6 separate regions of the Homo sapiens genome follow, and regions 1, 2, 3, 4 and 5 are each linked to region 6. Evidence: promoter capture Hi-C in 16 types of primary human blood cells and fetal thymus (Javierre and others, 2016). All regions are on one chromosome and are shown on one strand. Each heading gives the region's core, a stretch centred on a gene start or on the middle of the fragment in contact. The rest is flanking DNA. Distances are from core to core; before and after follow the strand shown. Region 1 overlaps HEATR3 (HEAT repeat containing 3). Region 2 has its middle 5.8 kb from the start of NOD2. Region 3 holds the start of LOC101927272 (a long non-coding RNA gene). Region 4 overlaps HEATR3-AS1 (HEATR3 antisense RNA 1). Region 5 overlaps HEATR3 (HEAT repeat containing 3). Region 6 holds the start of BRD7 (bromodomain containing 7).

Region 1 (3,955 bases), core at 233-2,732, 280 kb before region 6:
AATTAAGGTTATATAAATTTATATTACCCATTTTAAGAAATGTTGGTTGATAATGTTAAGTTTAAGTTGGCGTTATATATTTTCAGAGAAAAAAAAAGCTTCCTTCTTTCTTTAGTCTTAGAGAAATGCTTTATTATAGTCTTTACAGAAAGGCAGGAAGCAAGTCTGTCTGCTCCATAGCAAGTTCTACAGGTCACATAAGGGCTCGTTAGTAGTGTGTGTTAGCGCAGCCATTCCAAGAAAGACATCTAAGCTAAGCATCTAAAAGCAGGTTTGGTGTTTCTAAGTGCCTGGTGTCTGAAATGAACTCTTGTTTAAATCTTAGTATGCCCAGCTACTTCTTGACACAGTAGATAAGTTTCAGGGTGAATTCTGTTCAGAATTCCTGAATATTTGTCTGTTCTCTCCAGCTAACTAAGTGACGCTTGGGGAATAGCCATGCAGATAGATGGAAACCCAGTTAACGGGGGCATGCTCCACTGTACCAAGAGGAATTATAATGCTCGTTTGTACTTCTGGCACTTCATGACTTTTCTTTTACCTACCCCATTCCCCGTGTGCTCTATTCCAAGCGCAAAAATCTTCTAGTAGGCTTTCACTAAGGAAATTCCCCAAAAACATTTTCCCAACCATTGAGAGTTGGTCATTTACTTTTTTTTTTTTTTTTAAGCCCACTGACAAGGAACTGAGAGAGACTATAGCATTGCTGACAGCCCAACAGACTGCTCTGGAAATTATTGTCAACATGTGCTGCAATGAAGGTTTGTTAACATTTACATTTAGACATTTTCCCCCTGAGCCAAGAGGGAAACTCCCGTGGAGATTTTCTTAACTATTCCAGTTCTGCGTGGTTTGCCCGCTTCCCAGATCCCTCTGATGACGAATGGGAAGAGCTTTCTAGCAGTGATGAAAGTGACGCATTTATGGAGAATTCCTTCAGTGAGTGCGGGGGACAGCTGTTTTCTCCCCTCTGCCTCTCCCATGAAGTTCACACGGCTCTCACCAACTACCTCATCCCAAAGAAGGTAATCCATTTTCATTCTAGGCTTACCGTGGAGCATGGGAAAGGCTTAAGCAAGGTATTCATTTTGTGTACAAAAGAAGCAAGCTCACACTTCCAGGTTGTAGATGGTGGTAAGATCTGAGACAAAGCTGAGCCTAACAGTACTGGAAATAGGCGAAAAGGTCATTCTATATGAAGCCTAACCATTTCACTTAGGAGTAATATGTTGGAATTATGTAAGGGAATCGTGTTAAATGACTACTCTTTAACCTTTGCTTTACTGCCTCTTTTAAATCTAGATTTTTGAGAAAACTGCCTTTCCAAACAGCATTGCAGTTGACCTATGTTCTAGGAACCCTACTTGGAAACCTTTGATTAGAAAGTAAGAACTCTTCTGCTTTCAAAAACATTTGTCATTATTTTATTTTATGAAATGATGGGCTATTAAATAGAAGGTGCTGACTCCCCCTAGGACCCAGAAGTTTTGTTCCTGGGTATATATACCAGAAAAATATGTGCCCACATGCCCTAGAATACATGTATATGAGAGTGTTCATAGCAGTGTGTGTCACAGTTGCCCCAACCCATAAACAAACGTGTTGTCCATCAGAGTTAGAATGGTAAATAAATTTTGACAAAATCACGCAGTACAATACATGCAGCAGTAAAAGGGATCTGAATTAGAGCTACTCACAACTCGGATGGAACTTACATTGTTGAACCAAAAAAGCGAGACATAAAAGAATACACACACTGTGATTCAGTTTTTACAAAGTTGAGAAACAGGCAACATTGAACTATTTTGTTCAGGGATGCATACCTTGGTGATAAACCTATTAAAAAAAAAAAGAGGCAAGGAAATGTTTACCATAGAAGTCTGTATGGTGCTTACCTGTAGGTGTCAGGGAGGTGGGATATTATATGGAAGAGATACAGGGGCTTTCAGGGTCCAGCAGTGTTAATTTCTTTCCCAGGTGCATGGGTTTTGGTTTCATAGACTGTTTGTTAAACTCTCTATGTATGTTGTGTACTTAACTGTATATATGTCACATTTCACAATTAAAAATAATTTTAGGCTGGGCATGGTGGCTCACACCTATAATCCCAGGACTCTGGGAGGCCAAGGTAGGAGGATCACTTGAGGCCAGGAGTTTGAAACCAGCCTGGGCAGCATAGCAAGACCCCATCTCTACAAAGGAAAAAAAAATACAAAAATTAGCCTGGCATAGTGGCACTCAGCTGTAGTCCTAGCTACTTAGGAGGCTGAAGTGGGAGGATTGCTTGAGCTCAGCAGTCTAAGGCTGTAGTGAGCTATGATGGTGACACTGTACTCCAGCCTGGGAAACAGAATGAGACCCTGTCTGAAGAAAATTATAATTTTAAGGATGCTACCCTACATAGAAATTTTTCTAAAACATATTCCTCATGACTCATGAATGAGTTGTGTATCAGAGGCCGTGAATATTCAAGCAGTTTGATTTGGCAGATTAACAGTTCACCTTATAATTCTAGCACTTTGGAAGGTACAGGCAGGAGGATTGTTTGAGGCCAAGAGTTCCAGAGCAGCCTGGGCAACATAGCAAGACCCCTATCTACAAAAAATAAAAAACTTAGCCAGGTGTGGTTGCATGCACATGTAATCCTGCTCCTTAGGAGGCTGAGGCAGGAGGATCACTTGTGCTCAGGAGGTTGAGGCTACAGCGAGCTGTGATCACACCACTGCACTCCAGCCTGGGCAACAGAGTAAGACCCTGTCTAAAAAATGATGATAAATTTTAGAAAACACAAAAAACAGTTCACCTTGTGATTCTTTGCTAACTGCCATAGATACCTTGTATTTACAGATATTTCCAGTCAGAACGTGAAGCTTAGGCTAAAAGTTAATACTGAATTCTGATGGGCAACTTCTGGAGAATCAGATGGCATTGTTTCACTTCCTTTCCAGAATGAACACTATTCAGTGCAGAGCCCTCTTCTGTCTCCAGAGTCTTGTGTCCCTCCTGGATGTGGAGCACCTGGGAGGAGCCGCAGCCCTTCAGACGCTTGCACAGCATCTGTCACAGCTGCTTTTTTCTCAACCAGGTATTTAGACTTTATTGCGAAAGACTACGCAGACGGAACAGAATTTTGAAGGGGCAGGAATTTGGATTTTGTAAATGTATATTGTTTGTCATCCAATGTGCAGAAACCTTTCCCAGACACAGGAATCATGTATTTATAGTTGCCATGGGGTACAGAGTCAAAACGAGGTATGCAAGCAGCTCCTGGGCTTATAATTTTCTTTTTTGTTAAAATTGTTTGCATCCAGTTATATCAGGCCAGTCAAGGCTGTATCATAAATATCATAAAGGCCTCATTAAGGTATTTGGATAATTCTCAGCCAAGCACGGTGGCTCATGCCTGTAGTCCCAGCACTTTGGGAGGCCGAGGCGGGAGGATCACCTCAGGTCAGGAGTTGGAGACCAGCCTGGCCAACATGATGAAACCGCTCTACTAAAATACAAAACTTTAACTGGGCGTGGTGGTGGAGATGCCTGTAATCCCAGCTACTCGGGAGGCTGAGGCAGGAGAATCGCTTGAACCCAGGAGGTGGGGATTGCAGTGATCTGAGGTTGTGCCATTGCACTCCAGCCTGGGCAACAAGAGCAAAACTCCATCTCAAAATAATAATAATAATAATTGAGTACTATTCTATTATTTTCTTCCCAGTTACAAGCATTTAAGTTTGATTAATATATGTATGTAGTACAGAATTCAAAAGTTATTAGAGGACAGAAACTGGAAAGCCTCCCTCCTTTCTCCGACACCCAGTTCCTCTCCCAGAGTCAAGTTACTGTTGCACCAGTTACTTGTGTATCCTTCCAGAGAGATTCTCCATGTATAAGAGAGCGTGTGTATGCGGGCATGCGTGCGTGTGTGTAAGGCAAATGGTAGAATACCATCCACACAATT
Region 2 (3,595 bases), core at 968-3,467, 320 kb after region 6:
GACATCTGTTTGGGCAAAGGTGCTGATGAGCAGTTTGGGTGGGGTTAAGGGCCATCAGGTCCATTGTAAATCATTTTAAGGTATGTGCCTTGCACAGAGGACCTAAAAAAGGGCAGCAGTGGGCCGGGCACGGTGGCGGATCACGAGGTCAGGTGATCGAGACCATCCTGGCCAACATGGTGAAACCCGGTCTCTACTAAAAATGCAAAAATTAGCTGGGCATGATGATGCATGCCTGTAGTCCCAGCTGCTCAGGAGGCTGAGACAGGAGAATTGCTTGAACCCAGGAGGTAGAGGTTGCAGTGAGCTGAGATCATACCACTGCACTCCAGCCTGGGCGACAGAGTGAGACTCTACCTCAAAAAAAAAAAAAAAAGGCAGCAGTAATGCTAAAAATCCAGCCCTGGCTCTTCTGTTCCAACCCGGCACTTCTGACCATGCAGATGAAGTTGGCACTTGTGTCCACACATTGGAAAAGAAGAATGATATGGTCTTCTGTGAGTTAATTAATAATGGAGGAGTGAGAAACTGATTTTCAAAGACAACACCCTCAGCCAATGGAACATTTTATTTTGCTGAAGTGGGGTTTGTAAGCTTGGGGCTAGAATGGCAGGGTTTGAGAACAGAGGGGTGATTCTAGAAACAATAAGGCGGAAGGGAAGGAGAGAGAGGAGGCACAGCACGGGGTCTCAGGAGGAGGCTTAGGCAGGGGAGCTGGATTGTGTTTTCAGGTGTCTGATCTTCCTGCCCAATGTACTGATGAGCTTGGAATTGGGTTAGGACCTGAGGTGGGGAAGTGACAGAATGCTGGGTCTGGTCTTGAGGTAGGAATGGGGCAACCTCAGAGGCTGCCCAAGAGATGCAGGCACGTCAGGTTCCCAGGCTGGAGGCTGCTCTGTGGAGAGCTGCCTGCTCCAATGTGTCCTTCTTTCAAGCATTGTCCCTCTGTCAGTAAGTCACCCATGGATAGGGCGCAGTGGCTTACGCCTGTAATCCTAGCCTGGGAGGCTAAGGCAGGCAGATCACCTGAGGTCAAGGGTTTGAGACCAACCTGGCTAACATGCTGAAACCTTGTCTCTACTAAAAATACAAAAATTAGCTGGGCATGATGGCATATGCCTGTAGTCCCAGCTACCTGGGAGGCTGAGACAGGACAATCGCTTGAGCCCAGGGGGCGGAGGTTGCAGTGAGCTGAGATGGCGCCACTGCACTCCAGCCTAGGCAACAGAGTGAGACTCCACCTCGGAAAAAAAAAAAAAGTCACTCTGAAAACAGACTTGGCCAAGCACTGGGCCAGAGGCTGAGGTCCAGCAACAAGGAAGGGACAAGGAAGGGATACCTTGAACCCTCAGAGACTGGTGATACACAGGACGGACACATGGAACTTGGGCCAACAGTGTTGGACCGTCTCGGCTGATGGCCAACAGGAGAACAGGCAGGCTGATCTTTGCAGCTGAGAGGACTGGGAGAGCCCACAGGGACTGTGGGGTCTGGAGAGCTTCCTTGCAGGAGGTGGGCATGGAAGGTCCAGATAAAAGCAGGTAGAGAAGGACGTGGACTTGACTCATAGTCCCACCATTCCATAGCTGGGTCATCTTAGGAAATTCATGATCCTCTTGAAACCTCCGTTTCTTCCTGTCAAAGATGGGGATGAGGAATGGAACCTATTCCATAGAGGTGTTGTGAGAGTACACGGCGTGGCATATGGCAAGTGTTCAATAACATATTCACACTGTGGTGTGCTCACTGTTTACCAGGCACCGAGTCCTAGTGTATGCATCCCTCATGACAAGATCTAAGTGGACTGTCATCCTCACTTAACTGTGAGGGAGACTGAGGTCAAGAGAAATGAAATGACTGGCCAAGAGCATACAGCCGCTAAGGAGCAGGGCTGGAATTCAAATCCAAGTTCGCTGGGGCCAGAGTCCTTGCAGTTGCCACCTGTTGCCTCTGCCTGGGGCACAGAGTGAGCAGAAGCTCACAGGTGGGAGTACTGAGAGCTGCGGGAAGTTGGTGAAGCTAGGGGTGCAGAGATGTGGGGAGGGAAAGCCATTCCTGTCTTCATCCATTTGGGCCAGCTTGTGGAAGTGTTTGGACTTTGGTGAGTGGGCGGGCTGCTTGGAGCAGAGGACCACCAGCGTGGAGACTGCAGCCCACTATGAGGCCGGGTTACCACCACTGTCAGCAGCAGCAGCCGCCGTCGGTCCTGGGCTGAGCTCCTACTATCCAGGCCTGCTGATGGGGGCAGTCCTCGCTCCTGGGGGAAGTGCTCAGGCACAGGCAGCTTCCCGGCCTGGAAGAATTTTGAATGACACAATCCAAGGATTTCTCTCCTCTGAGGCCCGGGGGATTCTGGAAGCATTTTCCCTCCGCCTCTTCTGAGCACTTCCTGCACGGTGCCCATGTCAGAGCACTCAAGGACAGAAATGTCTCCAGGGCATCCCAATTGCCTGTCTCGGCAGAGGGCCCTGCACACAGGGAGTTTTTAATCAATATCCCTTAACTCATTGGAAAGTTTTAAAAAATTATTATTAAACAAGTAAATTATGCTTATTAGGAAATACAGGTTAACACAGAAGAATTTTAAAAGTCCAGTTAAAATCCGATCCTAACTTGTCTTTTAGATGTTTCAATGCATATATTCACACATATCTATTACAGAATTTTTGTATAAAGTATGAGGTAGTAGTCCAAATTCATTTCTTTTGCACGTGGATATCTAGTTTTCCCAGCACCATGTGTTAAAGAGATCATTTTTCCCCTTTGAATTATCTTGGCATCCTTGTTAAAAAACAACCTACTCTTTAAATTTAGCCTTATATTCTTTCTACACAAAGCATTTGGCAGCCCAACTGTTTTTCATTGAGATATAATTCACATACCATAAAACTCACCCTTTTAAGGTGTGTAATTCACTGGTTTTTAGTCCATTCACAAGGTTGTGTAACCATCACCATGATCTAATTCCGGAATATTTTCATCATGCAAAAACAAAACAAAACAAAACAAAACAAAAACCAAACCTCATGCCCACTAGCAGTCACTCCTCATTCCTCCCTCCTCTCAGTTCCTGGCAACCAACAAATCTACTTTCTGTCTTCATGGGTTTGCCTATTCCGGACATTGCATGTAAACGGACTTACACAATAGATGTCATTTTGTGACTGGCTTCTTTCACTTAGCATAATGTTTTCAAGGTTCATTTATGTTGTAGCATTTATCAGTACTTTGTTTTTTTCACAGCTGAATAATATTCCATTGCACAGATAGATCACATTTTCTTTATCCATTCATCAGCTGAGGGACATTTAGTTTGCTTCCACTTTTTCCTCTTATGAATAATGTTGCTATGAACATTTGTGTACAAGCATTTGTGTGCATATATGCTTCAATTCTGTTGAGTATACCTAGGAGTAGAATTGCTGGATCATATGGTAACACCATGTTTAACTTTATGAAGAACCCACAAACTATTTTCCACAGTGGCTTCACCACTTTACGCTCTAACCACCAATGTATGAGGCTTCCAGTTTCTCCACATTATTTCCAGCACTTGTTTTCTGTCCTTTGGACTAAGGGCACCTTTGTGAGTGTA
Region 3 (4,003 bases), core at 1-2,500, 300 kb after region 6:
GCCCAAGAGAGGCCTGCTGGGGATGTGTTGGGAGCCAACCTACCCCTACCAGCAGGTGGAACTGGTTTTGCCACTCCAAAACAGAGTTCCAGCTATGGGGACAGCCACTAGAGAGCAGAGCTAAGGGCATTCTAGGCCAAGGGGTCACAGTCCACCCTGAACTGTGCCTCCCAGCCTGAAGCCAGAAAGCTCAGGGAGGCTAGCGGCCCTGCCCAGGCCTCAGCACTGACCCTGCACCCCTAGGCCCAGCTGGATGACCCCTAAGAGCTTCCTGGAATTTGGATGCAGGGTTATTCTGTGTGTGCTGCCTCTCAGAGCATGTCACTTTGACGTGGACATCTCGGGTCTGGTTCTGGTGCTGTCCCTGTCTCGCCACGTGACCCTGGATAAGTCATCTCTCCAGGCCTTGATTTCCCCATCTGTAAACAGAGGTGAGTGAAATGATCTTTAAAGGCGTGTCAGTCCATTTTGCATTGCTATAAAGGAATACCTGAGGTTGGGTAGCTTATAAAGAAAAGAGGGTTATTTGGCTCACAGTTGTGCAGGTTGTACAGAAGCATGGCACCAGCATTGCTTCTTGTGAAGCTTCAGGAAGCTTCCACTTATGGTGGAAGGGGAAGGGGGAGTTCGTGACTTACATGGCAAGAGAGGGAGCAAGAGCCATGTCAGGCTCTTCTAAACAACCAGCTCTCATGTAAACTAACAGAGTGAGAACTCATTCATTACCACGGGGAGGGCACCAAGCCATCCATGAGGGACCTGCCCCCATGAGCCAAACATCTCCCACCAGGCCACACCTTCAACACTGGGAGTCACATTCAGCATGAGATTTGGAGGTGACCACCATGCATCCAAACCATATCAAGGACCCATTTCGGTGAGGGGACCAGGAACATATCCCTTCCCCTCTCCTCCACATCCTTTAATGTGGAGTTCAGCAAGGAAAGTAGGGCTTGGGTCAAATTAAAGCCTGGTCTTAATTTCCTGGTCCAGTTATTAGCTGTGTAACCCTGGGCAAGTCACTTAACCCCCTCAGGTTACAATGTTACAAATGATCACATTTTCCTCAACTGAAAAATGGGATAGGAACATGTCCCAAGCAGAGCTGGAGTGACGGTGCTATCAATGGCCCGGCAGTGCCTGGTCACACAGTAGGCCTGGGGAGCCCTGACTTTTACCGCACAGGGAGCTGCTTGCAGAGCTTGTTTTCAATTGTGGGCTTGGCAGGGAACTGCCGGCATCCCAGGGGACAGGGTCTCATGAGGATGCCTAATCCCAGCTCAAAGTGGAGACCCCAGGACTCCATCACAGCCAGTGGGGGGGAGTGGCTGCTGCAGCAGGGAGGGCTTCATTGGAATGAACCCCTTTAAGCTCCAGTCCAAATGCCCAGAGTGGTTTTGCAGGTATGGTTGTGAGGCTGGCATGGTAGTCCCATCTGCAGTCCCCTGGGATGAGGCACCTGTATGGTAGAGGGCCCGGGTGGAGAGAAGAGAAGGATGGGGATGAACCCAGGACCACAGATGGCCCAGTTCCATGGATGATTTTCATTGAGGTGCCTTCAAGTCAGTTCAACACTGGGCTTCTCAACCTTTGAGGTATGCAGGTAAGAGTCACCTGCGGCAGTGGGGGATGCTCTTGTTAAAGTGCAGACTCCGATTAAGCAGGTCTAGGGTGGGGCCTGAAATTCTGTGTTCCTAACAAGGCTCCATCCTGGGTATGGAGGTCAGGTACCCCCTCACCTCTCCTGTGGACCCAGCTTTTGAGGGGTCAGGAGAAGAATGTTCAGTCCCAGCTGCCACCACTCTAAAGTCCCCTAGAAACAAGGACTAATACAGGTGGCGTGGGAGAGGGCCCAGGCAAACAGGGAGGTGGGGTACCCCGGTGGGGCTGCAGTGGGCCCTGCGGAAAGCTTGCTGGAGGTGGGGGCCTAAGGAATTCAAGGACTTGTTCCAGGAACCCAAGGAACGAGTGGGCTCTAACTGCTGCAGCATATGGGAGATGCCAGGAGGAGCTGGCTGTGGCAGGCCATCCCAGTCCATCAGACAACTTGTAGTGGATGAAGATGCAGTGTCCATGGCCAGAAGAAACTCCCGTGGATGCTCAGGCCAAGGCTGCCAGAAGCACGAGGAGGGGCAGCATTGAGTGTCATCGGGAAAAGGCAAAGTGATGGTCCTGAAGCTGCCCCATGTGGCCAGTCCCTTTTTGGGAAGCCTGAATAAATCCATTTCCTGTGCACTGTGTGGGAAGCCAACCCCTCTTCAGAGGTACTTATGGGGAACCCCCCATGTGATTCTATAGGCTCCTTTACTCCCATATAAGTATTTTCTCTCTGTGTGCACCCCCCGCCCCACCCCCCCAACACCCCACACATATCATCTATCTGTGATTTTGAGATGACTTTTTTTTTTCACATTTCAGCACCTCTGAACTCAACAGGATCCTACACTTCTTATAGGCCTGGCTTGATGCTGACATCCTTCAGCCCCAGGGAAGACCTAAAGATCTCCAGGTCTTGAGGCACCTGGAACACCTCCACCTGAGACCACTTTAACATGATTTCTCTGCTTGAGGGATTTTGGACCATGCTGTGTGTATTCAGCCCTAAAACATGGGCGAGTGCCCGCTTGCAGTTCAAATTCTCAGAGGAAGTTCCCTGTACTCCACCCAGTGCCAAGTTTAGTTTGTGCAAATTTCCTTAATGTCCCCTCCTGTACAACAGGCTTATTTGGTGTTAACCCTCATATCGGGGGTCTAACTCTTTGCTTTTCCAGCTTTTGTGCTGGAATATCCCATTAAACTGTCCATGTTGGGTATTTTTTCTTTGTTAGTAAACATTTGTTGCATATTGTTGATAGCATTTTAGATTTGAAGAAATAACTGACAAAATCAATATCATCTGTTTCATCATTACAAATAGACTCATAGCTCTTTAATTTTTCCATTTAACACTTTAATTTTCCATAGGCCTAGATTTTCAAGAAGTCCAATATCTCTCACTTGAAGTGTCTTTTCCCTGGAGTAGATTGGGAGATTTGAGGGATATCTGTCCAAAGATGAGACAGTCTGTTTCTAGTTTCCCATCCAGCCTGATGGGGCGTCTACAGTTTTTACCACAAGGTGTCGCTGTTGAACAGATTCTGGTGCAGTCTAGTGCATAGCTGTCCACTTCTAGAGTGATCACTTGCTGGGCCAAGTTCCTCTCCTTAAGTGGTGTCTCACATTAAGGTTCCCAAATTACAGACTCATTAATTCACCCTAATAAGCTCATCCAGGCAGTTTAGGTCTTCAGGGGCTTCCAGCCTCCAACACACATTGGGCCAAAACCAGCCTGTACCACCAGCTCCAAGCCCTGTGTTGAATCTAGGTCATTGGTCCAGATGCCCCTTCATTCTGGGCCTGTGGTGTCCTTTCCAGACAGCAGACCTCAGTTAAGGGCATCCCAGTCCATCAGAGAAGTTCCAGGATCACAGACCCTCAAAAGGGGCAGTGTTGAGGATTCAGTCTGTTTTCTGCCCAGAGGCCCCATTAAGTATGTTGTATCACCTCCTCCCCAGGCTGTTTCTACATAACCCAGGGAAGCCATTCAGGGAACAGCTGCCTTATGAATGAAAATCCACCCCTAGACAATGTGCTATGCCATCCCAGCCAGAAAAATTGTTGGCAACTTCCCTTGCCAAAAATGCCTGGTATCACAGAATCTTATGCCATTATTGCTTTCTGGTCCAGGGTCCTCCCACCCTTCAAAAGGATGGCATACAACTCCCACCGTGTGTGTGTGTGTGTGTGTGTGTGTGTGTGTGTGTGTGTGTGTAGAGGCTGTTCTTGAGGGCAATAGGTGAGCTTTTGTTTTGCTTTGTCAGGTCTACATGGTAAGGGGGAAGGGCTAGAATACTAAGATAGTATTAGGATAATGGATGGAAATATTTTAAAGCAATTCCAAGGTGGAAGGAACAGAGAGAAAAGCCTTGGAGCAGCTGGAGAGAACTGTCTTCAAGGAAATGGA
Region 4 (3,909 bases), core at 640-3,139, 320 kb before region 6:
GGAGTGCAATGGCGCAACCTTGGCTCACTGCAACCTCTGCCTCCCCGGTTCACGTGATTCTCCTGCCTCAGCCTCCCGAGTAGCTGGGATTACAGGTACACACCACCACGCCTGGCTAATTTTTTGTATTTTTAGAAAAGACAAGGTTTCACTATGTTGGCCAGACTGGTCTCCAACTTCTGACCCTGTGATCGGACTGCCTTGGCCTCCCAAAGTGCTAGGATTACAGATGTGAGCCACCGCGCCCAGCCAAGGTTATCTATTTCTTTTGCAAGTATAATGTGGCATCAACAGACATGATTCTTTAGAGTTTACCTAACTTTGCATGTTTTATCACATTTGACACAGATTCCCTAAGTAATCAATTGTAAACATTTTATTTATTTATTTGAGATACGTAAAACAAGCCATCTGTTACTTTTTTTTTTTTTTTTTTTTTTTTTAGATAGAGTCTTACTCTGTTGCCCAGGCTGGAGTGCAGTGGCAGGATCTCAGCTCACTGCAACCTCTGCCTCCTGGCATCAAGTGACTCGCCTGCCTCAGCCTCCTAAGTAGCTAGGATTACAGGCGCTCAATACCACACCCGGCTAATTTTTTTGTATTTTTAGTAGAGATGGAGTTTCACCTTGTTGGTCAGGCTAGTCTCAAACTCCTGACCTCAAATGATCCACCCACCTTGGCCTCTCAAAGTGCTGGGATTACAGGTATGAGCCACCACGCCCGGTCACTCCATCAGTTACTTTTAAAAAATCCTTACTTCCAGGCTGGGTGTGGTGGTTCACGCCTGTAATCTCAGCACTTTGGGAGGCCAAGTTGGGAGGATCACTTGAGCCCAGGAGTTCGAGACCAGCCTGAGCAACATGGCAACACCCTGTCTCTACCAAAAATGCAAAAATTAGCCAGGCATGGTGGTGCCCACCTGTAGTTCCAGCTACTCAGGAGGGCTGAGGTGGAAGAATGGTTTCTGTCTGGCAGGTGGAAGCTGCAGTGAGCTGAGATCATGCCTTGCACTCCAGCCTGGGCAACAGAGTCAGACCCTGTCTCAAAAATATTAATTAAAAAGAAAAAATAAATAAAAATTTCTTACCTCCATTGTTACCTGAAAATTTGATAAATCCTGATTTTGATGTAGCATGGAAGATAATGCAAAAACAAAAATACATAATCACTAATATTAATAGTTACTTATTTAAAAACTGAAGTGATATTAGCCCATTGATCAGTTAAAAATAAATAAAACAAGTACAAAAATAGAGTAACCTTTAGAGGAATCAGGGCTTGCCTTGACATAATTAAAACCAGATGGGAATGCAAGCAGCTAAAGCAATATACAAAGAACAAAGTTTGGAGGCATCTATCTGACTTCAAAAGATTCTACGAGGCCATAATAAACGAAACAGCATGATATTGGCATAAAAACAGACACACAGACCAACTGAACAGAATAGAGAATTCAGAAGTAAATCCACATATTTACAGCCAACTGATTTTTTTTTCTGTGTGAATTCCGCCACAAACAGCCAACTGATTTTTGACAAAGGTGACAACAACATACACTGGTGAAAGGACACTCTCAATAAACGGTGCTGGGAAATCTAGATATCCCTATGCAGAAGAATGAATCTAGACCCCTCTCTCACCACGTACAAAAAATCAACTAAAAATGAATTAAAGGCTTAAATGCAAGACCTGAAACTATAAAACTACTAGAAAAAGCATAGGGAAAATGCTTCAGGACATTGGTCTAGGCAAAGATTTTATGCCTAAGACTTCAAAAGCACAGGCAACAAAAACAAAAACAGACAAAAGAGGCTATATTAAACTAAGAAGAAAAGGAAACAATCAACAGAGTAAAGAGACAACCTGTAAAATATGAGAAATTATTTCCAAACCATTCATCCAACAAGGGACTAATATCCAGAATATACAAGGGACTAATATCCAGAATATACAAGGAACTCAAGCAACTCAACAGCAAAAAAACAAATAATCCCATTAAAAAGTGGCAAAGGCTGGGTGTGGTGGCTCACACCTGTAATCCCAGCACTTTGGGAGACTGAGGCAGGCAGATCACAAGGTCAGGAGATTGAGTCCAGCATGGCCAACATGGTGAAACCCCATCTCTATTAAAAACACAAAAAAATTAGCCAGGCGTGGTGGCATGTGCCTTTAGTCCCAGCTACTCTGGAGGCTGAGGCAGGAGAATTGCTTGAACCTGGGAGGTGGAGGTTGCAGTGAGCCAAGATCATGCCACTGCACTCCAGCCTGGGTGACAGAGTGAGACTCCATCTCAAAAAAAAAAAAAAGGAGGGGTAAAGACCACATGAATAGGCACATCTCAAAAGAAGACACACAAATAGCCAACAGGTATATGCAAATATGCTTAACAGCACTAATCATCAGATAAATGTAAATCAAAACCACAATGAACTATCATCTCACTCCAGTTAGAATGGCTATTATCAAAAAGACAATAAATAAATAAATAAATAACAAATGCTGGCAAGGATGTGGAGAAAAGGGAACTCTTATATAATTTTGGTGGGAATGTAAATTAGTACAGCCATTATGGAAAACAGCATGAAGTTTCCTCAAAAAACTGAAAATAGAACTACTGTATAATCCAGCAATTTCACCACTGTGTATTTATCCAAAGGAAAGGAAATCAGCATATCAAAGGTATACCTGCTCCAGCCATGTTTATTGCAGGACTATTCACAATAGCCAAGTTACAGAATCAACCTAAGTATTCATCAACCAATGAGTGGATAAAGAAAATGTGGTATATATACACAGTGGAATACTATTCAGCCACAAAAAAGAATAAAATCCTATCACAGCAACGTGGATGGAATTGGAGGTCATTATTTTAAGTGAGATAAGCCAGGCACACAAAGACAAATATTGCATGTTCTCATTCACATGTGGAAGCTAAAAAAGTTGCTCTCATGGAAGTGGAGAGTAGAATGATGGTTACCAGGGGCTGGAAGGAAGTAGGGGAGGGAGCTTGGTTAATGGGTGCAAACACATAGTCAGATAGAAAAAACAAGCTCTAGTGTCCAGTATCACAATAGGGTAACTGTAATTAACAACAATTTATCGTACATTTCAAAATAGCTACAAGGAGAATATTGAACGTTCCCAATGCAAAGAAATAATAAATGTTTGAGATGATGAACATGCTAATTACCATGCTCTGAGCACTATACATTATATGTATTGAAACATCCCTATGTACCCCATGAATATACACAATTATTTCTTGTCAATATAAAAAATCAAAATTTAAAACAAAACAAATAAAAATTGCTAGAAGAGATTTCAAATATTCCCAACACAAAGAAATGATGAATGTTTGAGGTGATGGATATGCTAATTACCCCGATTTGATTATTACATTGTACGGATTATATGTATCAAAGTATCACATGTACCCCATAAATATGCACAATTATTATGTATCAATTTTTTTAAAAACTACATGGGAATGTACTAGCTCTTCAGCAGAGACTAGAAGTTCCTAGACGGAGAGTGGGGTCATTGATTGCTGAGCAAAGGAAACAAGAAACTACAAATAGAAAGGAAATGCTGCCCACCTGGGAGCAAAGAAAAGAAACTGCAATATTAAGTGAGTTTACCTGGAAAATGATAATTTTTAATTTAATTAATTAATTAATTTTTTGAGACAGGGTTTCATTCTTGTTGCCCAGGCTGGAGTGAAATGGCTCGATCTTGGCTCACTGCAACCTCTGCCTCCCAGGTTCAAGCGATCCTCCTGCCTCAGCCTCCCAAGTAGCTGGAATTACAGGTGCCCACCACCACACCCGGCTAATTTTTTAAAATATATTTTTAGTAGAGATGGGGTTTCACCATGCTGGCCAGGCTGGTCTGGAACTCCTGACCTCAAGT
Region 5 (3,695 bases), core at 969-3,468, 260 kb before region 6:
CCAAAATCATACATCATTTATGGATTTTAATTCACTTTATTTATGAATATAAACTATAATATGTTTAATTTATCTTGCTTATACTTGGTATGTTTATAAGTATTTAAGTCTAATCTCTTGAAGTTTTAATTTTTCCCTGGCATTTGTATATAAAATAGTATGCATGAGTTATTGCCACATTCAAAGTTGGTACTTGTTTTGGAGACTGGTGTTAGTCATACTAAATGTGTTTTGTTGTTTCCAGAACATTGGGTGCTTTCTGCTTGAAGTTACCACCAAAGATCCTTCCCTTGTGGTAGCAGGAGAAGCTTTGGATGCCCTCTTTGATGTTTTTGCAGATGGTAAAGAAGCCGAAAGAGCCTCGATTCAAATTAAATTATTATCTGCTCTGAAAGAATTCCAGCCGGTCTTTAAAATGAAGGTTTGTAGCCATTTAACTTATAAATACATAAGTCTGAACATTCTGTGGGGACAAGGGTGTGTGTAGTTACCGCTGTGCAACTCAGAAGCATGTGCATGACGAATCCCCATATGTAGCACAGCATCCCCAGTACTTTGTAAAATGTTCGTTGACTGAGTCATAGCTCAACAGTGTGACTACTGAATCATTGAAACTGAAGCTAAAATGGTATCTGACAAGTTCTTCTTTTTTTAAGTTTAGTAATTTTGACAATGCTTCATATATGTCAGTATTATACTCTGTATTTTGCAAAGCACTTTCATACACATTTTGCATTTATTTAATTTTACTTTTTTTTGTTTTTTTGAGACAGAATCTCACTCTGTCGCCCATGCTGGAGTGCAGTGGTGCGATCTTGGCTCACTGCGACCTCCCCTTCCCCAGTTCAAGTGATTCTTGTGCCTCAGCCTCCCAAGTAGCTGGGATTACAGGTGTCCACCACATCACCCAAATAATTTTTGTATTTTTAGTAGAAACGGGGATTCGCCTTGTCATCCAGGCTGGTCTCGAACTCCCAACCTCAGGTGATCTGCCCACCTTGGCCTCCCAAAGTGCTGGGATTACAGGTGTGAGCCACTGTGCCCAGCCATATTGTTCTTAAAGGTTACAGTCCTTTAAATTTCTGGATAAAGAGCTTGCAAGATAAGAAAAAAATATCCCCTATTTCCCTGCAGCTTCAAGGAAAGCAGATATATTAATAGTTAGAGTCATCAAACTCTGCAGAAGCAGGTGCTTAAAAAAGGTTAAACAGTGAACTGGGAAAATAACCCCTGACTTCTGAAAGGTCTTTGTTCTGATTGATTTTCCTACTCAGTATGTATTGCTGTGGTAATAACATTTGTTTTTCTTTTATCAAAGGTATAAAGCTCTAATGAGATTTCTTCCTAGCCAGAGGCTAGCCTGTAGTTATTTATGTGAAACTCTTTTTTTTGCTAAATGAAGCCACAATTTGTGTTAAAGGCTATTCAGTGTATATTTAGCTGCAAAATGCATTTATGTACAATCAAGAACTTCTCTTGAGCAGTGTTTCTCAAAAGTGCCCTCCTTGTATCAGCAGCATCAGCCCTTGCCTGATAACTTATTCAAAATGCAGGTCCTCGGCCCCAACTCCTGACCTACTGAGTCATAGACTCTGTGGATGGGCCCACCAGTCTATTTTTCAACAAGCCTTCCAGATGATACCGTTGCACACTAAAACCTGAGAGCCACTGCTCTAGACTAGAGGTGAGATCAAACTCAGATTCCATACAATTGATATAAAAAACCACAGGCCAGGCGCAGTGGCTCACACCTGTAATCCCAGCACTTTGGGAGCCCCAGGTGGGAGGATCACTCGAGTCCAGGATTTCAAGACCAGCCTGGGAAACATAGCAAGAACTTGTCTCTACAAAAAAATTTTTTTAAGTTAGCCATTAAGTGGTGGCTCATGCCTGTCATCCCAGCTACTCAGGAAGCTGAGCAGGAGGATCGTGTGAGTGCAGGAGTTGGAGGCTACAGTGAGCTCAGTGGATTGCAGCACTGCACTCCAGCCTAGGCGATGAAGCAAGACCCATCTCTATTAAAAACAAAAAACAAGCAAACAAACAAAACCAGCGCTGGGCATGGTGGCTCACACCAGTAATCCCAGCACTATGGAAGGCCAAGGTGGTAGGATCACTTGAGCCCACGAGTTCAAGACCAGCCTGGGCAACATAGTGAGACCCCACCTCTACTAAAAATTTAAAAAAATTACTCCAGCATGGTAGTGCGCTGCTTGTAGTCCTAGCTACTGTGGTGGCAGAGGCAGGAGGATCACTTGCGTCCGGGAGGTCGAGGCTGCAGTGACCCATGACTGCAGCACGGCTCTCTGGCCTGGGCGACAGAGAGAGACCCTGTTCCAAAAACAAAAAAACCACAACACTACAGACTAACCTCTGGCTAACAAAGGAATTTTTTTTTTAAGGTGGGGTCTCACTGTGTTGCCCAGGCTAGTCTTGAACTCCTGGACTCAAGCAAACCTCCTGCCTCGGCCTCCCAAACTGCTGGGATTACAGGCATGAGTATGCACCCAGCCTAACAAAGGAATTTCATTAAGGCTTTATACCTTTGAGAGAAGAAAAACAATTAAGTATTATTACCATAGCAATGCATACTAACTAGGAAAATCAATCTGAACAGCAGACCTTTCAGAGGTTAGGGGTTATTTTCCCAATTCATGGTTTACATAATTCCTTTCTATAGTTTATATAACTCCTACCACCTGCCATTCAGTCACCTTTGTAACTATCATTTTTAATAATGCACATTCTCAGTTTATTCTTTACTTACCGAGTTCCATTTACCTTGGAAGTAAAAACATTTTTTCCAAATTCTTACAGCTATCTGCTTCAGCAAATGGTTAAATACACCCTAAATTAAATACTTTATTTAAATGAATTAATCATATCTACCAAGTCATATATGATTTTTTGTTTTTTGTTTGCAGATACGTAAAGAAGGGAGAGGTAACTATAGCACAGATCAGCTGTGTGTTCTTGACAATGTGAAAATGAATTTGCGAAGATTTATTGCTTATCAAGAAACTGTTGAGAAAAGACTGACTTCTTAAACAATCCAAAAAAGAAACCAGTTCTTCCCCCAAAGTATTCAATGCTTAGAATACTAAAAGGTTTTCTTTGAATGTATATGTTTCTGAAAGTCATTTTTTAATGATTACATTCTGTACATTCTGTAAAAACTTCAAAACCTGGCCAGGCATGGTGGCTCACGCCTATAATCCCAGCACCTTGGGAGACCGAGGCGGGTGGATCACTTGAGGTCAGGAGTTTGAGGCCAGCCTGGCCAACATGGTGAAACCGCATGCATAAGCATGGTGGCACATGCCTGTGATCCCAGCTACTCGGGAGGCTGAGGGAGGAGAGTCGGTTGAACCTGGGAGACAGAGGTTGCAGTGAGCTGAGATCACGCTACTGCACTCCAGCCTGGGTGACAGAGGGAGACCCTGTCTCCAAAAAAAAAAAAAAAAAAAAACTTCAAAACCTGTCAGAAACTCTGTTGCTGGTTTTTTTGTGTGTGTGTTTTGTTTGTTTGTTTTGTTTTGTTGTTTTTTTCTTTTTTGAGATGGAGTCTCACTGCTGCCCAGGCTGTATTACAGTGCTGCGATCTTGGCTTACTGCAACCTCTGCCATTCCAGGTTCAAGCGATTCTCATGCCTCAGCCTCCTGAGTAGCTGGAATTACAGGCACCCACCACCACA
Region 6 (3,641 bases), core at 1,069-3,568:
TATTTTGAAATAGAAATAAGTAGGCAAGGAAAAATACCTAAAAAGTGTCCAGAGTGGAGCAGCAGCCTGCTTTGTGTCAAAAAGCTGTGTAGTACTCTTGACTTTTAAAAATCATCTTCACGAATTACTTTACTACTATTAATTAAAAAAAACAACTGGTTACCTCTGAAGAGGGAGTCTATGTGAAGGATTGGGGTGAGGAAAACTTTTTCCATTTTGTGTACTTTTGCACCACATGAACTACTTTTAAAAAATCAAATGCATATATGGGTTTTATAATTTAAGGAAGAAAACAAAACATTACTCCTACCTAGCCAAAGGTAATAAAAACTGGGACAAAAGGGAAGGAATAGACTTAAGAAATCCCCAAAATAAGATCTCTAAGACTTGGTGACTTAGCAATGTGTTCAATCACATGGAAGAGAAAGCTCCTCTTGTATATATAAACATAAGAAAAATTACATAACTAACCTATGAAAATTTACCTTCACAATAATTGATGTAATAAGTCGTTCAGTGGCAGGTTAAATTTGGAAAGTTAATAACAGTAATAACAATGTTATTATTATTAGAGACAGAGTCTCGTATTATTGCCCAGGCTGGAGTGCAGTGGTATGATCATACCTCACTGTACCTCAAACTCCTGGGCTCAAGGGATCCTCCCACCTCAGCCTCCTGAATAGCTGGGACACAGGTGCACACCACCAGGCTCTGGAAATTTTTGTAGTTTATTTTGCAGAGGCAGGGCCTTGCTATGTTGCCCAGGCTGGTCTCGAACTTCCAGCCTCAAGCAATCCTCCCACCTCGGCATTCCAAAGTGTTGGGATTACAAGTGTGGGCTACTGGGCCCAGCCATTAATTATTATTTTGCCCAGCTTTCAAACCAAGATGGTAGCTACTCATTCTTTTCTGTTAAATGCAAATGGTTAAGAATATCAATCTCCATTACAGGTTTCTGACCAAATTTTCTCAACACACTACAACACTGTTTTAAAAGATTTAAAGTTGCTCATTACAGATTTGGCATTATAATATTTATTTCAGAACAAACTTTAAACCCCAGTAGATCCCACTCGCTTCTGAAATGACTATTTTTGACAATCCTTGAACACTGAGGCTTTCTTGAGCATGACTTTTTACCCTGCCTAGATGGAAAAACCATTCTTTGAAGCAGCTCCTCAAAATTTGGACTTAGCTGCTTCCTCACCTGATGTGCGAGTACAATTGCCTAAGAGTATAATCCAAAAACGACTTGCTGAAACTCATAGATGATTCATGTCTCTATTCTGTCCTGCTCCTCCTCAAACGAGCCAGATCTTAGAGGCGTTTGTTTTCCCCAGATACAAAGAAAATAAAATGAGGTTGGCACCTGGAAGAGGCAGTGCCGTCCGCAAAGCCAAAGCAATGTAACCACTTGTACCTTAACTCTTCTCCGTTTTCTCCCCTTTTCTTCCCCTGGAATCTGCTTCTCTCCTTTCTTTCTCTTTTTCCGCTTTCTGTCCTTGTGTTTGTCATGATCGTTTTTGTCTTCGAAGAGGCTGGAGTCGTGCCCCGAGCTGCCCGTGGAGAGTTCGGTGACTTCGTTCCCTCCTACTTTGAGGACCAGCTTCAAGGGCTTCTCTACATACTCTTAAAAAAAGAAAAGAAAAGAAAGGAAAGCGCGTCGATTAAAATCGGGGCTCTCCAGGGAGTGCTAAGGATGCAGAGCGCCAAGGCGCAGCAAGCCCGAGGCGGCTTTGGGCGCTCCGCGAAGCACCTGTTGAATGACGGACCCCGGCCCGGGGGTGCGGCGGCGCCGCCCGCCCCGAACGCTCCCAGGCCTCCCGGGCCCGCCTCACGTCTCCCCACCAGAGACCCACCGGACCAGGGGGACCCGGGTTCGAATGCCGCGGCCGCACGGGGGGCAGCGCGGCCTCCGGCAGGACGCGCCCCCTTCGCCGGCCTGGGCCTGCCGTGGGAAGGAAGGGCCCCGGGCCGCCCCGGAGCCACTGGGAAAGAGCGGAAGCCCGGCAGAGCCGCCGAGGGCCCGCCGCCCGCACCCCGGCCCCCTCCTCACCCTCGTAGAGGTGTTTGTCCGACTTGTGCTTCTTGTGCTTCTTGCCCATGTCCGACCGGGCCCCGGTGCCCGCCCCCCGCGCCAGGCCCAGGCCGTGCGGCGCCGCTTCCGGTCCGGGCCAGGCGAGCGGAGGGCGGGAGCGGGGCCCGCGAGACCCCGCGCCGCGAGGCAGGGGGGCGGCGCGCGCCGGGCGGCGCGATGCCCCTCTCGAGAAGACGGCGCGCGAGACCCGGCCGGAGCCCGAGAGCGGCGGCGGGGGGGGCGCGCGGCCGGCGCAGAGGCGGGAAAGAAGGCCCGCCGCGCGCACAGGGTGCCGGCGGCTGCGGGTGGCGGCCCCTGGCGACCGGAGGTGGTGCTGCAGCTCGCGGGCCGGGGGCGGGGCCGAGGGCGGGGCCGGGGCGGGATCCACCGCTCAGACTCTCGTCTTTCTTCCTTCCTCCCTTTCCCCTCAATTTGTCTGTCTTGTCTCTGTCTCTGTGTGTCTCTCCCTCCGTCTCCACTTCCCTCCCTTCTTTTTACTCCCTCCCTCTCTTTCTTTCTCTTTCCCTTCTTCCCTTCCTTCCTCCTTCCTTCCTTTCTTTCTTCCCTCCTTACTGCCTCCCTTCAAGCCTTCCTTCTCTCTTTTCTTCCTCCCTCATCACCCTTCCTTCTCCTCTTCCCGTCTCCTTCCCTCTTTTTTTCTTTTCTTTTTTTCCCCTTCCTCCTTCCCCCACTCTTCCTTTCTTTCCACTTTCCCTTGCTTCTGTTTCTTCCCTTTTACGATATTGACTGAACCCCATACTGGGTGCCAGACCCAGCAAACTCAGCACATTGGTGACTGAAGATTCTAATCTTAAAAAAAACTTATGTGCTGATAGGTGAAGGTTACCAGACGTTTTGACTGTCTTTACTTCTAGCTGTATGGTGCTTTGTCTGTTTTCAGATAAGCTCGTAATTATAGTCTCCTCTTAAGAAAGGATCTGTTATCAGTCATTTATACTTTAGTAACAATTTAGACCCATGAATCACCTCTCCCAGGAAGATTTGTAGCTTTACCTTGAACTTCAGTGGTGAAATTATAGGCTTATATTTTAGGACCCTATTGTTGGCAACTAATAGAAACCAATTTGAATTATTTCAAGTAAATAAAAAGGGATTTATTGGTTTACATGTCTAGAAAGGGCAAGAATAAAGCTTGCCAGAGGGAAGACAGGAACCAAGGATGTAATGCTGTTGACTGGCATGCCAGCTCGCTCTCTCTCTTGTCTCTCTGTATATCGGTCTCCATCTCCCCCCTTCTTTCCTATATGGCTGGAAACATGGCCACCATCTGCTTCTGAGGCCTCTTCTTTATAGTGTCCTGACCAACTGGGAAAAAGATCTCTTCCTGTCAGCTTCACCTGGAAAACAGTCCCAGGGAAGGACTCTGATTGGCTTGGCTTGTGTCACATGTTTTATGGGACAGGGGATGGGAGATTGATTCGGCCTGGATGCCAAATCTACCCCCTCACCCCCTTGGCCAAGAGAAGTGGAGTCTGTGATTGGCAGCTCCTGCCAGACTTCTATGGTTAGCCAGGGAAGATGAGGTTCTTCTAATGAAGAGAGT

Evidence for each region. The method cuts DNA at HindIII sites, captures the fragments that hold promoters and counts their contacts. A CHiCAGO score of 5 or more calls a contact.
Region 1: a fragment that was not itself captured here is called in contact with the fragment with the promoter of BRD7 in region 6 in 16 of 17 cell types (naive CD8 T cells, total CD8 T cells, neutrophils and 13 more); the score reaches 32.7 in naive CD8 T cells.
Region 2: a contact is called between a fragment that was not itself captured here and the fragment with the promoter of BRD7 in region 6, in 16 of 17 cell types (total CD4 T cells, naive CD8 T cells, naive CD4 T cells and 13 more). The highest score is 35.4, in total CD4 T cells.
Region 3: a fragment that was not itself captured here is called in contact with the fragment with the promoter of BRD7 in region 6 in 17 of 17 cell types (total CD4 T cells, naive CD8 T cells, total CD8 T cells and 14 more); the score reaches 36.5 in total CD4 T cells.
Region 4: a fragment that was not itself captured here is called in contact with the fragment with the promoter of BRD7 in region 6 in 14 of 17 cell types (neutrophils, naive CD8 T cells, total CD8 T cells and 11 more); the score reaches 31.9 in neutrophils.
Region 5: a contact is called between a fragment that was not itself captured here and the fragment with the promoter of BRD7 in region 6, in 14 of 17 cell types (naive CD8 T cells, total CD8 T cells, total CD4 T cells and 11 more). The highest score is 23.7, in naive CD8 T cells.

Annotation. Positions count from the first base shown.
Region 1 is chr16:50,083,267-50,087,221 of GRCh38, forward strand. HEATR3 (HEAT repeat containing 3) reads left to right here. Exons shown (of 15, transcript NM_182922.4): 8 at 671-761; 9 at 868-1,025; 10 at 1,303-1,385; 11 at 2,949-3,085. Among named protein-coding and RNA genes, the nearest start is that of HEATR3-AS1, 19 kb to the left of the region's middle. The HindIII fragment of the contact is 2,772 bases long and covers 97-2,868 here.
Region 2 is chr16:50,686,021-50,689,615 of GRCh38, forward strand. No RefSeq gene overlaps it. Among named protein-coding and RNA genes, the nearest start is that of NOD2, 5.8 kb to the right of the region's middle. The HindIII fragment of the contact is 3,251 bases long and covers 593-3,595 here.
Region 3 is chr16:50,668,730-50,672,732 of GRCh38, forward strand. LOC101927272 (a long non-coding RNA gene) reads left to right here and starts at 126. Exons shown (of 3, transcript NR_110908.1): 1 at 126-431; 2 at 1,954-2,264; 3 at 2,419-2,910. SNX20 (sorting nexin 20) reads right to left here. Exons shown (of 4, transcript NM_182854.4): 4 at 2,900-4,003. The HindIII fragment of the contact is 1,314 bases long and covers 594-1,907 here.
Region 4 is chr16:50,049,696-50,053,604 of GRCh38, forward strand. All of the region lies in intron 2 of HEATR3-AS1 (HEATR3 antisense RNA 1), which reads right to left. Among named protein-coding and RNA genes, the nearest start is that of HEATR3, 14 kb to the right of the region's middle. The HindIII fragment of the contact is 9,594 bases long and covers 1-3,909 here.
Region 5 is chr16:50,102,015-50,105,709 of GRCh38, forward strand. HEATR3 (HEAT repeat containing 3) reads left to right here. Exons shown (of 15, transcript NM_182922.4): 14 at 245-421; 15 at 2,925-3,695. The coding sequence ends at 3,047. Among named protein-coding and RNA genes, the nearest start is that of HEATR3-AS1, 38 kb to the left of the region's middle. The HindIII fragment of the contact is 3,825 bases long and covers 307-3,695 here.
Region 6 is chr16:50,366,670-50,370,310 of GRCh38, forward strand. It overlaps BRD7 (bromodomain containing 7), which reads right to left and starts at 2,319. Exons shown (of 17, transcript NM_013263.5): 1 at 2,057-2,319; 2 at 1,421-1,629. The coding sequence starts at 2,105. RefSeq lists silencers at 1,708-2,217, 2,248-2,497. The HindIII fragment of the contact is 8,339 bases long and covers 1-3,227 here.